Linked DNA regions of Homo sapiens: region 1 is linked to region 2. Evidence: promoter capture Hi-C in human tissues and cell types (Jung and others, 2019). All regions are on one chromosome and are shown on one strand. Each heading gives the region's core, a stretch centred on a gene start or on the middle of the fragment in contact. The rest is flanking DNA. Distances are from core to core; before and after follow the strand shown.

The links. Contacts are between HindIII fragments. The study calls those that stand out against the background at their distance.
Region 1: a contact is called between a fragment that was not itself captured here and the fragment with the promoter of BEGAIN in region 2, in 1 of the 25 tissues and cell types used here (lymphoblastoid cells).

What each region holds. Positions count from the first base shown.
Region 1 is chr14:101,624,962-101,631,516 of GRCh38, reverse strand. It overlaps LINC02320 (long intergenic non-protein coding RNA 2320), which reads left to right. Exons shown (of 6, transcript NR_184269.1): 6 at 2,113-3,168. Among named protein-coding and RNA genes, the nearest start is that of DIO3, 67 kb to the right of the region's middle. The HindIII fragment of the contact is 3,701 bases long and covers 2,108-5,808 here.
Region 2 is chr14:100,584,690-100,590,815 of GRCh38, reverse strand. BEGAIN (brain enriched guanylate kinase associated) reads left to right here and starts at 3,399. Exons shown (of 7, transcript NM_001385089.1): 1 at 3,399-3,567. The coding sequence starts at 3,526. The HindIII fragment of the contact is 7,942 bases long and covers 1-6,126 here.

The DNA.
Region 1 (6,555 bases), core at 2,709-5,208, 1.0 Mb before region 2:
CAGTTTTAAACACATTTGGGAAAATATAGGCAGTAGAAATAGCAGTTGTGCTGTTAATGCCTCAGACAGGGCTGGGCTCGTAGTAGGTGCTCAATAAATATGTATTAAGTAAGTGAATAAGGAAGAAAATCCCATGGCTCTGCCAACAAGAAACACTTCTGTCAACATTTCACTGTGTTTGTTTTCCTGAGTATTTTTTCCTCTACATAATTTAGCTTTGTTTTCCATTCATTATGCTCACCCGTGCAGACACAGTTTTTAATCTTGTTTCTTTTTTTTCACTTCACGTTGTTGACATGTGTGTTTCTCTCTTCTAAGCAGCGTTTCAGCATCTCTATAAAACCCTCACAGGTATGTGAACCATAGATCATTTGAATCGTCTATTGTGCTTTTAGGCTGTTTTCAATTTTTCTTTTTATAAATGATGCAGCAGAGTATCTTTATGCAGAGACCGTTTCCATACTTCCCCCTGTGCAGAAGGAAAAGTAGGCAGAAGAAAGATTAACTTGGTCAAAGCTTTTAAAATCTGATTTAATACTTCTTAAGAATGATGCACCTTATGAAACAACTTTATATCTGTTGAAAAACCTAGTTCTTTTTTTAATATTGTTTTAAAAAATGACTTGTTCTGAACAATATCCTGTGCCTTTCAGAAGACAGCGACGGATATGAAAGGAGATTTGTTCTCTCCAAGCTCTTAGGAGGCGATCTGGCTCAGGAAACAGACACATCAGATCCGAGCATGTATCTGATGGTTGCTATGGGAACAAGTCATTTAACAGCCACTCAGCTAAAGCATTGATCAATAAGGAAGGGGGCAGGAGGGAAATAAATTAGTTGGTGTCTGAATAGCCCTGAGAGAGAGCAATAATGCGTCCCCTTCCCATGGCAGGGGCCCGGGCAGGAGGCAGGGGCGAAGTCTCGTCCATCCACGCTGGGATGTGTGGGGTAGGAGGGCAGAGGGGGCAGAGAACAGAATCATATTGGGGTGAGAAACCTGCTCCCCAAACCAGATATGGGGCAAGTGAGGCCTTAGACAAGGCTGGGGGCAGGGCTCCCAGGGATGGGGGCACGGCTGGTCCCGCTTCTCCACGCTCCTGTGATGTGCTTGCCGGGCCTGCTGGGATACCCTGTGGCACCCCATCGCTCTAGTGGGGAGTTCCGGTCTAGAGAGGAGCCGTGACTCCTTCCAGGCACATGGTCAACCCCACTTGTCTTCTGGGGGCTCCCAGCCTGGCAGGGGAGAAAGGCAAAGGCCCTCACGGGGTCGTTCATTGATTCATCCACAAATACTTCCTGAGCCTGTCTGAGGGACCATGCTCAGGCCTGGGCAGACAGCAGAGACCCAAGGAAAGAACAGAACTTGGGCTCTGGGGCCAAATCGTGGCTCGGCCACTTGGCAGGCTCTTCACCTGTAACGTGTTGAGAAAGTGACGTAAAGTCAGAGCCAGGAGTGGGCATCCTGAGTGCTCAGCTGCCATTGCTGGGACTCATAATCGCAAGGGAAGGCAGAGACAGAAGTGAGGGTTCCTAAGTGGAAGGTACTCATAAAGCCTTGGCTGAATACGTATGGCTGACACAGGGGTGTCTGTGTTTGCCACCAAAGGGTGGCCCTGGGCTGGGATTACACACGGAGAGAAGGCGGGAGGAAAGTCAGGGAGCCTCAGACCATTGGAGGCTGCATCTATTGACCTCTGATCCCCACAGGCATGGGTGTGGGTGTGGGTGTGGGTGTGGCTGGCTCAAGGGTCAGTGCCCACCAGAGAACTGGACCATAGATGAGCTGGACTTTTCCAACCCTGCCAGCCTGGGCCATCTCAAGGGTGCTATTGGTTGTGAGGGGAGGAGGCCCTCTTTTCTGAGTCCCTCCCCAGATGAGTGCAAGCTGGGACACATATACGAGAAGGATCCTAATAACATGCATGCCAAAATCCTGCTGTCCCAGCCTTTGGTTCCAGCAGTTTGACTTCTGGAAGTCTTTCCCAAGGAAATAACCTTGAACCCACGGTGTCTGCTGTAGCATTCTTCATAAGAGTGACTGCAAACAACCTCTAAGCCCCAAATCATGTATTGGTTAAAAAAATAATGATTCCTTTTCTTGCTTTAACTCAGGTGATCCCTAGAAACACAGCCAGTGGCCCGGAAGCTGCACTGTTTTGTGCACCGCAGGGATGGGCACAGATGGGGCTGCCTGCCCTCCTCCTGGAAGGAGGGAGAACCCAGTCTGGCCTGGAGTGGTCAAGAGCTAACTCTAGACTCAGCAAGACCTACTTCTCTCTCCTGCCCCTACTTCCTTGCTGCTGACCTGGGCAAGTCGCTGAAGCCTCTCCGTGCCTCAGTCTGCTCGTGCGTAAGATGGGCACAGGGCACACTGCCTACTTGATTGGGCTCAACCACGTGCAGTAAGTAGCTGGTGTCTGGCAAGAGCCCTCAGGAAACAGTAACCCCATTAATTCAAATGCACGTGCCTGGAACAGGCTCTGGGGGGCCAGCCCGGGAGTCCCACTCCATGATGGCCACCCTGGGGCCTGGCAGGCTGGGCTGGCATCCCAGGCCCACCGGATACTGGCTGTGCACCCCGGCCAGGCCACACATCTCTGAGCCTCACTTTCCCGTGTGTGAGATGAGGCTAGAAGCTGCTTTCTCTTGCGTGTGTGGGGATTGGCGGTGACAACACGGCCAGGAGCCCAGGCCCAGCCTACGCGAGCAGCCTCGCTCCAGGCCACACGCCCCACTCCTGACAGCTCTGTGCAGCGAGTTCGTGCGCGAGCGGGTGGCTGTCTGCCAGGCGAGGGGCGCGGGTGCCCAAGAGGGCTTCACTGCTTCTGGAAAGATCACAAGGAAAAACCACCTCCGCGGCGGGACGCTACCCGCGGGCCGCTGCGGTCCCGCTCGCGGCCGGCAGGGGGCAGGATGTCCCCGCGAGTCGCCCGTGTCTTCGGGTGTCCTCAGGTCACCCCGCACCGCTCGCAGCCTCCGCGCCTAGTTAAAGGGCGACGCACTCATTTCTGCAAAGAAGGAGCCCAGCGGCCCCTCCCCGGGGAACTCTTTCCATCAACTCGGGGCCTAATAATTTACATTTAATTTGTTAGCGGTTTAATGTTTAATTTTAAAAGCGAGATGATTCATTACCATATTAATAAATAATAACATTTATTATTCTCCTAATGAGTGTCCAAAATACAGAAGCAATTACATGTTTTATATATTTTCTCGTAATTTGAGACACCAGAGCGTTAATTACAGAGACTCACGCGTGGACCCCATTCTGATCCAGGGTCCTGATCCTGCCTTTGTTTCGGTCTCTGAACCAGCCGCCCTCCGGGGCTTCTGCAATTCCCTCAATTAGAGGAGAGGAAGTCGTACGTGACGAAGCTGGGGCTCTCACAGAACCCCGGCGCCCCAGACCCAGGAGCTGCAAGACCTCAGCTCCCCGTGCCCACACTCGGAGACCCAGGCCCCTCCCAGTCCCCCGTCTCCTCTGTGCAGGGTTCTTCAGGAAGAATCGGAAAGAGGCCCCCCGACCCACAACCAGCCTCGCATTCCCTCCTCCCGCAGGGATCCATTGAGCTGGGGGGTGGGACTATCCTCACTTCACAGATGGGGAAACTGAGTCCTGGAGAGAGACGCTCCGGTGTCCTCAGCTGGTGAGGGGCAGATCCGGGAGCCACGTCCCACGCAGTCGGTTGGCCCCAAGCTTGGTTCCTGCCTCAACCCCAGCGCAGGTTGCAGCAGGCCCGCGTAGGAGGGCGGCCTGGGTCTGGACAGATCCACAGCCGGCCAACGCCCCTGGCTAGCTCTCTATGGCTTTGCTTCTTCTCTTGACTTGCCAAGTTCTTCTTGTTCATTGTAGAAAATGTGGAAGGTGAGGCCGGGAGCGGTGGCTCACGCCTGTAATCCTAGCACTTTGGGAGGCCGAGGCGGGCAGATTGCCTGAGCTCAGGAGTTCGAGACCAGCCTGGGCAACATGGTGAAACACGTCTCTACTAAAAAAAAAAAAAAAAAAAAAAAAAAAATTTGCTGGGCGTGACGGCAGGCGCCTGTAGTCCCAGTGGGAGTTTGGGGAGGCTGAGGCAGGAGAATCACTTGAACCCGGGAAGCAGAGATTGCAGTGAGCCGAGATCGTGCCACTGCACTCCAATCTAGCGACAGAGCAAGACTCCGTCTCAAAAAAAAAAAAAAAAAAAAAAGTGGAAGGTGAAAAAAACACGGAGAGACAGCAAAGCTGGCAATGACATAGCTCCAAAAATCCCACTTCTCAGATAAGATGCAGGCAGTAAGGGCCTGGAGTTTTATGTATCCTGATGTTTGAAAGGGCTTGGACAGGGCACTTCCTCCCTCCATAGCTCTTCTGTCCTTAGGAATCCCTCCCTTCTGGAGGGGAAGGGTGGGGGTTTTCCTGTTTGGTCCCCAGGGAAGGAAGTTCAGAGACAGAGGCCCACTCAGGGCCACCCCCTGGCCTGCACCCCTGAAATGCAATTTGGATAATATGGAAAATTACTAGGAAGAAAAAACGCTATAATCCCCCCACCTAGAGATAACCAGGCGTTCTGGTATATACCTATTGAGGACTTTTTTCCCAAGCAAATACTCAGAAAGAGACTTCCTCCCAATAGGCATGAGATCTTACTCCACGTGCAGTTTGTCTTATCTTGATTTTTTTCCAGTAATCTTTTAAGAGTTTCCCATGCCATGTAGTCATTCTTCAAAAACCCACTTTGAACAGCTGCGTAATATTCCGCTGTGGAGGAGTGCCCTGCAGTGTAGAGAAATGAGTTATTTACGCTGAAGTCTGTTATTACATGGACATCTTCCCTTTTCTGACCCTGCAATGACCACACTCATAGGTGAGTCTCTCTGGAAATCCTTGACTACCTCCTTAGGGTCCATTCTTAGAAGTGGAATTACTGGGTTAGAGGGCATGAGTGCCTTGAGGGCGGCTGTCTCCCTCTACCTGCATGCCTGCCAGGGCAAACCCGTGCATGCTCCCAGGACAGGCCTGGCAGGGCGTGTCTCCCTGCTGCACCCTTGGTACCCTTGGCAGGGCTAACATTATCCTCTAAACCAGGTCTTTGCAGCACTTACCCTTTTCAAGGTGCTACTGTACCTCTCCTTTAAGGAGGGTTCATCCCGGGAATCGTGAAACACAGGCAGGCTGGTCCTCTTCTCACAACTTCATGATGGATAGACTGAGGCCCACTGAGGCCAAATGCACTTGACTCAGAAGGTTTTAGAATCTTTTTTGGATCCCATTTGGATCCCACACCATTGAAGCCTCCTTGTGTTTCAGATTATGGGGAAAGGCTCAATGATATGTCCCAGGAGAGTGCTGTCTCTGAAGTCTACCCAGCCACAACCCATCCACAAACTCATCCACAAACCTATTCATTCTGGAACTCATCCACTTACCCTCCACCCATCCATTCATCTCAGGACTCATCCACCTATCCATCCACCCATCCATTCACACTGGAACTCATCTATCCATCCATCCATCCATCCATTCACCCACCCACTTAACCATACATCCACCTATCCATCTGTCGATCCATGCATCCATCCATCTATCCATCCATCCATCCATCCATCCATCCATCCATCCATCCATCCATCCACCCACCTACTTAACCATCCATCCACCTATCCATCTGTCAGTCCATGCATCCATGCATCCATCCATCCATCCATCCATCCATCCATCCATCCAATCATCCATCCATCCACCTACCTACTCATCCACTAAAAAATATTGGTTGAGAACCAACTCTGACTCAGGCCCAGGTGCAGGAAATTTTGCATGAACAGCTCTGGCTTTTACAGGCAAGGTAGACCTTAAAGAGCAAGCACAGTTGCAGTGACTCATCTGCAAGGTGAAGGTTAGGTATTATGGGAGCACAGGACAGGGAGCTCAGACCTTCCTGAGAAGGGTGGACCAGGCCCCACTGGCACTCTTTGTGTGACCTTGGTGGAGTCCCTGCCTTTCTCCTGCCCTGCTCCCTATGCTGAGCCACAGAGGAAAAGCCATAACTTACATATTGGCTAGAAAGCATAGTTGGCCAGGGGGAAGTTGGCCACTTTCTGGGAAGCAGAAAGTGGGCAGGGAGGCCCAGCCCCTGTGCTGACATCTGTGTGGCAGTTATTCTCAGGGGTCTTGAGAGAATTAGAACAAACACAGAGGTCAGTGCCAGGCACCACTGTCACGGGGCCATGAACTCTTCATTGTTATTGCTTATTATTATTATTAGTAGTAGTAGTACTAACACTTTCTGAGGTTTTTTTCATCGGCCAGGCATCATGCTGAGAACTTTCAGATATTGGTTCATTTAATCCTCCCTTAGCCCTGTCAGGTAGGCAGAAATTGTTACTCTCACTTTACAGATGAGAGCATTGAGGCACAGAGTAGTTATGTAACTTGCTCAGGGTCACAGCCAGTAGGTGTGCGCAGCCTGTGCCTTGTGGCTTTGCTGCATGCCCTGCCCTTCTTGTTCTTGTTACTGCAGGCACCTACAGTGGGGCATTTAGGGAGCCTGACTTGCCCAGGGACCCACTGAAGAA
Region 2 (6,126 bases), core at 2,150-4,649:
TCCCAGGACAAGCAGGTGAAGGAACAGGGCAGCGGGGTACGGTTAGGGTTAGGGCTGGGGTTAGGATTAGGGTTAGGATTTGGTTTGGGATTAGGGTTAGGGTCAGGTTGGGATTAGGCTTAGGTTTGGGGTTGGGATTATGGTTAGGATTTGGGCTAGTGCTTGGGGTGTTTTTGGCAGTGTTTAGTGTTAGGGTTAGGGCTGGGTTGGGGTTTGGTTTAATGTTCCTTTTGGGATTTGGTTTTGGGTTGGCGTCTGGGTTAACTTTAGCGTGTGGTGTGGGTTGAGGTTATTGCTTTCTGGCAGGACAGTGTTGGGGTTAGAGTCGGGTTTAGGGTTCATGTTACTGTTCAGGCTAGCATTGGGGTAGGGTTAAAGTTTGCTTTGGTTTTGGGTCCCATTAGAGTTAGGTTTAGCATTTGATATAGGTTGGAATTTGGGTTAATATTGCAGTTGGGGTCATTGTTAGATACACACTTGGGCCAATTCAGGGCCTTCTCACCACCTGTGGAGGGCAGCTGTAGCCCGATTCTGCAGGGGACTCCAGAGTTTCAGTTGGAGCACCTGTTGTTTGTGGGAGAGTGGGAAGATACCTCTCACCTTCCCATTCTCTAGGGCTCATAGTCAGAACCCTTGCTCAATCTGTTCTTGTGGGTGGGGATTGGAAGATGAGGCAGGGAACTGGTCAGCATGGCTAGCTGATGCTGGAGCCCCTGTATGTGGCTGTCTGCGGGTGCCTCACTGTCAATGACTTCCCTGACGTGCTGTCCTTTCTTTTATACTCAGCCACCAGGGCCAGAAGCCTGGCATCACACCAGGCTATTCCTATCTCCCCCACCTCCATCCATCCATGCATTCTTTGGCACATTTAACCATGAGCCCCAGTGTGGTGCCACTTCCTGCCCTGCTCCCTGACCACAGTAGAGGACCACGCATCCCAGCGGGGAGATTGATGTCCACATCAACAGACAGATCAGATAGCTCTGGAACGCAGTAAGAGACACGCAAAAAACAAAATAGGGCAACGAGATTGAGCCATGGGGATGGTGATGTCAAACAGAGTGGTCCGTAGAGGTCTGAATGAGGGCAGGGGCCTGAGGAGAGGGTCCTCCATGGCCCCAGGGCATCACCTCGAAGTCCTGCCACTTTCATCCCTTCTTCCCAACCCGGCTGAAACCTTGCCTCCTCCAGGAAGCCTGCCTGATGCCCCAGGCTCTGCTGCACTGACTGTAGTTTCCCCATCTGCAAAAAGGGGCTAGTACCACTTCCCCTACAGGGGCATTGCAGGGATGCTCCCAGACCCACAACCAATGCCTGCTTTCTCTCCGCCTTCCTAGCTTAAGGGGGCTGGAGTGGGAAGGATAGAAGAGAGGGCAGGGAGGGTGGGGACGGGAGGTGCGTGCAGCATGGGGGAGGGGCTCTCCTGGGGCCTTCCCAGGCAGGCCTGAGCTGAAGCCTGCAAGCTGCTGGAGCTGAAGCAGGAGCCGCCCCCACCCCACCCGCCCCTCCCCCGCCTCCCCAGCCATCTGTGGCGTTGGCAGCAGCAGTGCCAGGGCGGGCGGTGAACATTCTGGCACCATCTGAGCAGGACCAGCCTCTGGGGAAGGGCCGCAGCCCAGGAGGAGGCAATGTGGGCAGAGCCCTGCCTGTACCCCAGGTTCCACATCCCCCATTGGTGTTTGTCCCCTTAGGGACTGGGGAGGGAAGGGACACTGGAGCTGGCAGGCTGGGCCTCACTACCTCTCACAGGATGCCTCCACTGCTGTGTGCTGCCTGAATGGTGTCTGAACCTGAGAGGCCAGAGTGGAGGTCAGGGAGCCTGTCCCTACTCCTGCTGGGGAGACTAAGGCCCCCTTGAGCAAAGAGGCTGGTCCCGTGGTGCACACCAGCGACGGTTTGGGCGAAGTCTGTCCACGCTTCGCCCAAACTGGGAGAGCCCCGCCCTGAGCTGCCGCCTCTCATTTTGTCTTGACTGTGGTGGGGTGCACTTGGAGGCGCCTCCCTCTGTCCATTGGTTACCCAATCATGTCCCTGGGACCTGAGAGGGAGCAGAGACAGGACTTTGCTTGACACGAAGTGGCTCCAGTCAGCTGCTGGTTCTTTTGCTTGTCTCCTTTTTTTCTGGGTTTCCCCTCTTGCCTTGCTATCAGTGCCTTTTCTCAGCACTGACACTGCCTGAATGTAGCAACCTACTCCCCAGATTAAATGAGAGAGCGTAGAAACTGCAAAGCATACAACATACAGCATATAAGGATGGTGGTGATGGCAGCTCAACAGTGGGAACTCAGTGTCCCCAAACTGTACACTTTAAAAGTGGTTAAAATGGTAAATTTTATGTTTTCCATGTTTTCCACAATTAAAAAACAAAAATATACAAGGTACTCATTCGCAGCATCTTCTAATCTGCCATGTACTTGGAAATGATATAAGCATGTGTGAACCATGAGCCCATAGGTCCCGAGGGAGGATATGAGCGAAGCACACGGGCTTTGCCAGCTCTGTTTCCACCACGCAGGACCCTCCCTGGCTGCCAGTGCTCCTCCCCGGGTTCCCACGCTGGCTGCTGCTGGGCTGGCTGGGATGGAAGACCCTCATGTAGCTGGCACCCTCAGGGCTGCCCCTTGCCCGCTCTGGGAGGAGAGAGGAGGGTTCACGCTGCACCTTTACCAGGGTAGGACTGGCCAGCCTGGGCTCTACCGGGCAGGTCGGTGGGATGCTTCAGACTGGAGGGATAGGCAGGGGGCAACACTGGTCCTCCTGAAGCCACCTTCCCTTCCTGAGAGCTCCTTGGGGAGAAGGCAAGCCCTGGAAGCCACCGACTGGGGGCTCGGGCAGAGCAAGGGCAGGGTAAGGGGCAGCTTGGCCAGGAGGCACCCTTGGGAGCCAGGGTTTCCTCATCTGTAAAATGTGACTCTGCGAGGGCAGGAGCTTGGTTTCACTCGCTACTGTACCCCCTGGGGCCTACAGCAGGGCTGGTTGGTACACACTAGGTGTCTAATAAATGTTGAGGGATTGAATGGATGGACCGATGAAAAGGTTGGGCAGGTCATTACTGACAGCCTCTGGGTTTCAAGGGCCCATTCACTCTGTCACTCACCTTCGCGCCCGTGCATTAGTTCTCTCATTTATTCATTCCCCCCGCCCCCCCAGCCCCGCATGCTCTACCGCACTCATTCATTCACGCGCTCAGCCATTCAAGCTGGCGCGGGTTCATTCATTCCCTGCCCCTCTGCCATTCCTCGCCTGGCCCCCGCGCACGCCGCACCCCCGCGCCCCTGCCCGGCCCTGCGCCCACCACTTGCGCCCCGGCCGGGCGCTGCCGGGAGGACGCGCGGGCTCAGCCGCGGCTGCGCGGGGCCGGGGCTGGCGGGGAGCCGGGCTGGGGGCGGGGGGCGGGCGCTCCCTGCGGGAAGCCGGGCGGGGTGGGGGAGCCCCGGCCGCGCCGGCTCCCGGCGCGCTCGGCCTCGGAGGGGAGGGGGCGGCGGTAGCGGCGGCGGCGGTGAGCGGCGCGGCTGCCCTGGGGCCATGTGGACTGGCGGTCGCCGGCCGGGCCGGCTGCGCCGGGCGGTGAGTACCTGCGAGCCGGGAGGGCAGGGCGCGGGCGCGGGCGCGGAGGCGGGGCGGGCGCCACCCACGCCTGGGGCGGTCCCTGCTCAGCGCGGGAGGTGGCCGGCCCCCCGCCCCGCTCCCCTCCGCGCTGCGCCCCCGCCGTGGAGGCTTCACTGGCCCGGGAGGAGCCGGGCCGGGTCTCCTGGGAACTGGGCACTCTCGGGTGGGGCGGGGATGCCCAGCCTCCGCGCGCCGCCGGGAGCGCCCGGGTCCTATCGCGGGGTCCTTGCGCCCTGACACGCGCGCCCCTGCGGCGGAAGGAAAGGAGGGACGGGTGACCAAGGGCGCGGCCGGAGGACTGGGGACCCGCCGCTGTCCCGGGCGGGTGGCGAGGGTGCGGGCAGGCCTGGACCCGCCTGCGTCTGGGGGCAGGGCCAGCCCCTGCTTGGGAGGCCGGAGAAAGGCCCGGGAGCCGGAAGGAGGCTGGACCCGGGGCCGCCTCATTGAGCGTTTGCAGCGCGTGGGCGCGCACGAACCTCGGACACCACCATCCCATTCAGTACCTCGCGGCAGGTACTATCCTCCTGCCCCTTTACAGGCGAGGAAACTGAGGCTCAGGGAGGCCAGGGCCTCGCCCAGAGCGGCTCAGCCGGCGCGCTCACCCTCCCTGAGCCCCAGCACGTTGGATGGGAATTTCTGCCCCAGCGTTTCCGCTTCCTGCTTGGTTTAGAGGTGTTTCCTTCCTCGTCTGTGCCCCACCCCATCCCCAATGTGGTTTCCTCAGGGCAGGAACAGCGTGGGCGACGCGCTGGAGTCTCCTGAGCCGGCAGAATGGGAGCAGAGTGGGCACCCGGGAGCGGGGCCGGATGGATAGGGAGCACTGCACGTGCAAAGTCCGCATGGCCAAGGTCGGCCGCCAGTGCAGACTGGGGGTCCAGGCCCTGGGGGTATGGGTGGGGCGGGGTCTCCACAGCCAGGCTCCGTCGGAGGCCCCAGTGCTCTGGCTCTCTGGAGGCCATGGACAGGTTCTTTTCCTTCTCTGGACCCTAGTTCCTCTGCCTGCCAAGAGCAGCAGAGACCCCCACTACTCCCAGGGCCAGGCTCCCACGAGGACTGTGGGCAGAAGCCCCTAACAAACTGCGGTGTGCAGCCCTGCCAGGCTGGCCTTGGTCTTGCCAGCAGGGGCAACTGGCCGTTGGGGGTGGCTCTGCCTGGCATCTGTGACACGCAGGGCGGGGAGACGGCAGAGAGGGCCCCAGCAGCATCCTGCAAACCCTTAATTTTCCCGACTCTCACTATAATCAGGGCAGCTTGGAAAAGCAAGCACTGTGGCAGATGCGGCTCTGCCCGGGCTCAGCACACGGGCTCTGGGCGATGGGCGGCTGCGCTGCCGCCAAGGGCCCTCCCCAGCTTTTGTCTCATATTTATAGATTCCAAGGCTCCGCGTTCCGTTTGTCGTCAAAACCTGGAGCTGTTCGCACCTGGGAGCTGAGTGGGGAGGGGAGGGCTGCCTAGAACCTCAGCCTGGAGGATGAGTTTTCCATGCGCTGGGGTGGAGTAGGGGGACACCTGTCAGAGCCCAGGCCTGGAGAGAGGAAATGAGCCCTAAGCAATCTGGAAGATCTTCCATCCACTCTCCCAAGACTTGGGCGCAGGGTCTGGCCCACATAGCTGCCATTTATGGAACGCCTGCTATGTACTGGGCCCTGGATCAGCATTTCCACGCATCATCTCCACGGCAACACTTTGAAGGAGCTTCCCTACTCCTGCAGGCACTCCTGATGCTGAAGAGTGGATGGATGGATGAATGGATGGATGGATGGATGGATGGATGGATGGATGGATGGATGGGAGGGAGGGAGGGATGGATGGGAGGGATGGATGGATGGGAGGGAGGGAGGGAGGGATGGATGGATGGGAGGGAGGGAGGGAGGGATGGATGGGAGGGAGGGAAGGAGGGATGGATGGGAGGGATGGGAGGGATGGATGGATGGGATGGATGGATGGATGGATGGGAGGGAGGGAGGGAGGGAGGGATGGATGGATGGATGGATGGATGGATGGATGGATGGGAGGGATTGACTGAAGCCCATGAGTCCATGGCTATTGGACACAGTCCACAAATCATTACCCAGGGTCCCAGGAGGTGGGGTCCAAGGGCTGAGTAGTTGCTGAACAGATGAAGGGGTCAAGGTGTGTTACAGGAGCCTGGCCCAAGGCCTGAAGGTGATGGGGAGAGTGTAGAGTGTTCAAGTCTCAAGACTTAGAGAGGCTGTGTCCTGCTGGAGTGTGGAAGCCATGGCGGTGGGGAGGTGTGGCTCCTCCCCCTAAGGGAGGTAAGGATCCCTGGGACAGATGGGTGGGTGACCCTAGGACTCGCCGTGTTGGTCTAGAATCACCCCGCATGGTTCTCTTCTGACTCCCCTTCCTGCCGCAGAGCTGGTCGCTAGCCTTAGTGGAGAGGCCTGGACGGAGGTCTGCAGCCCTGGGTTCTGGTTCCTCCTCTGCCGCTGACTCACTGTCTCCTCTCTAGGGCTCCGTATCAGAAGCTTAACACCCATTACAGTCAGGGGAGTG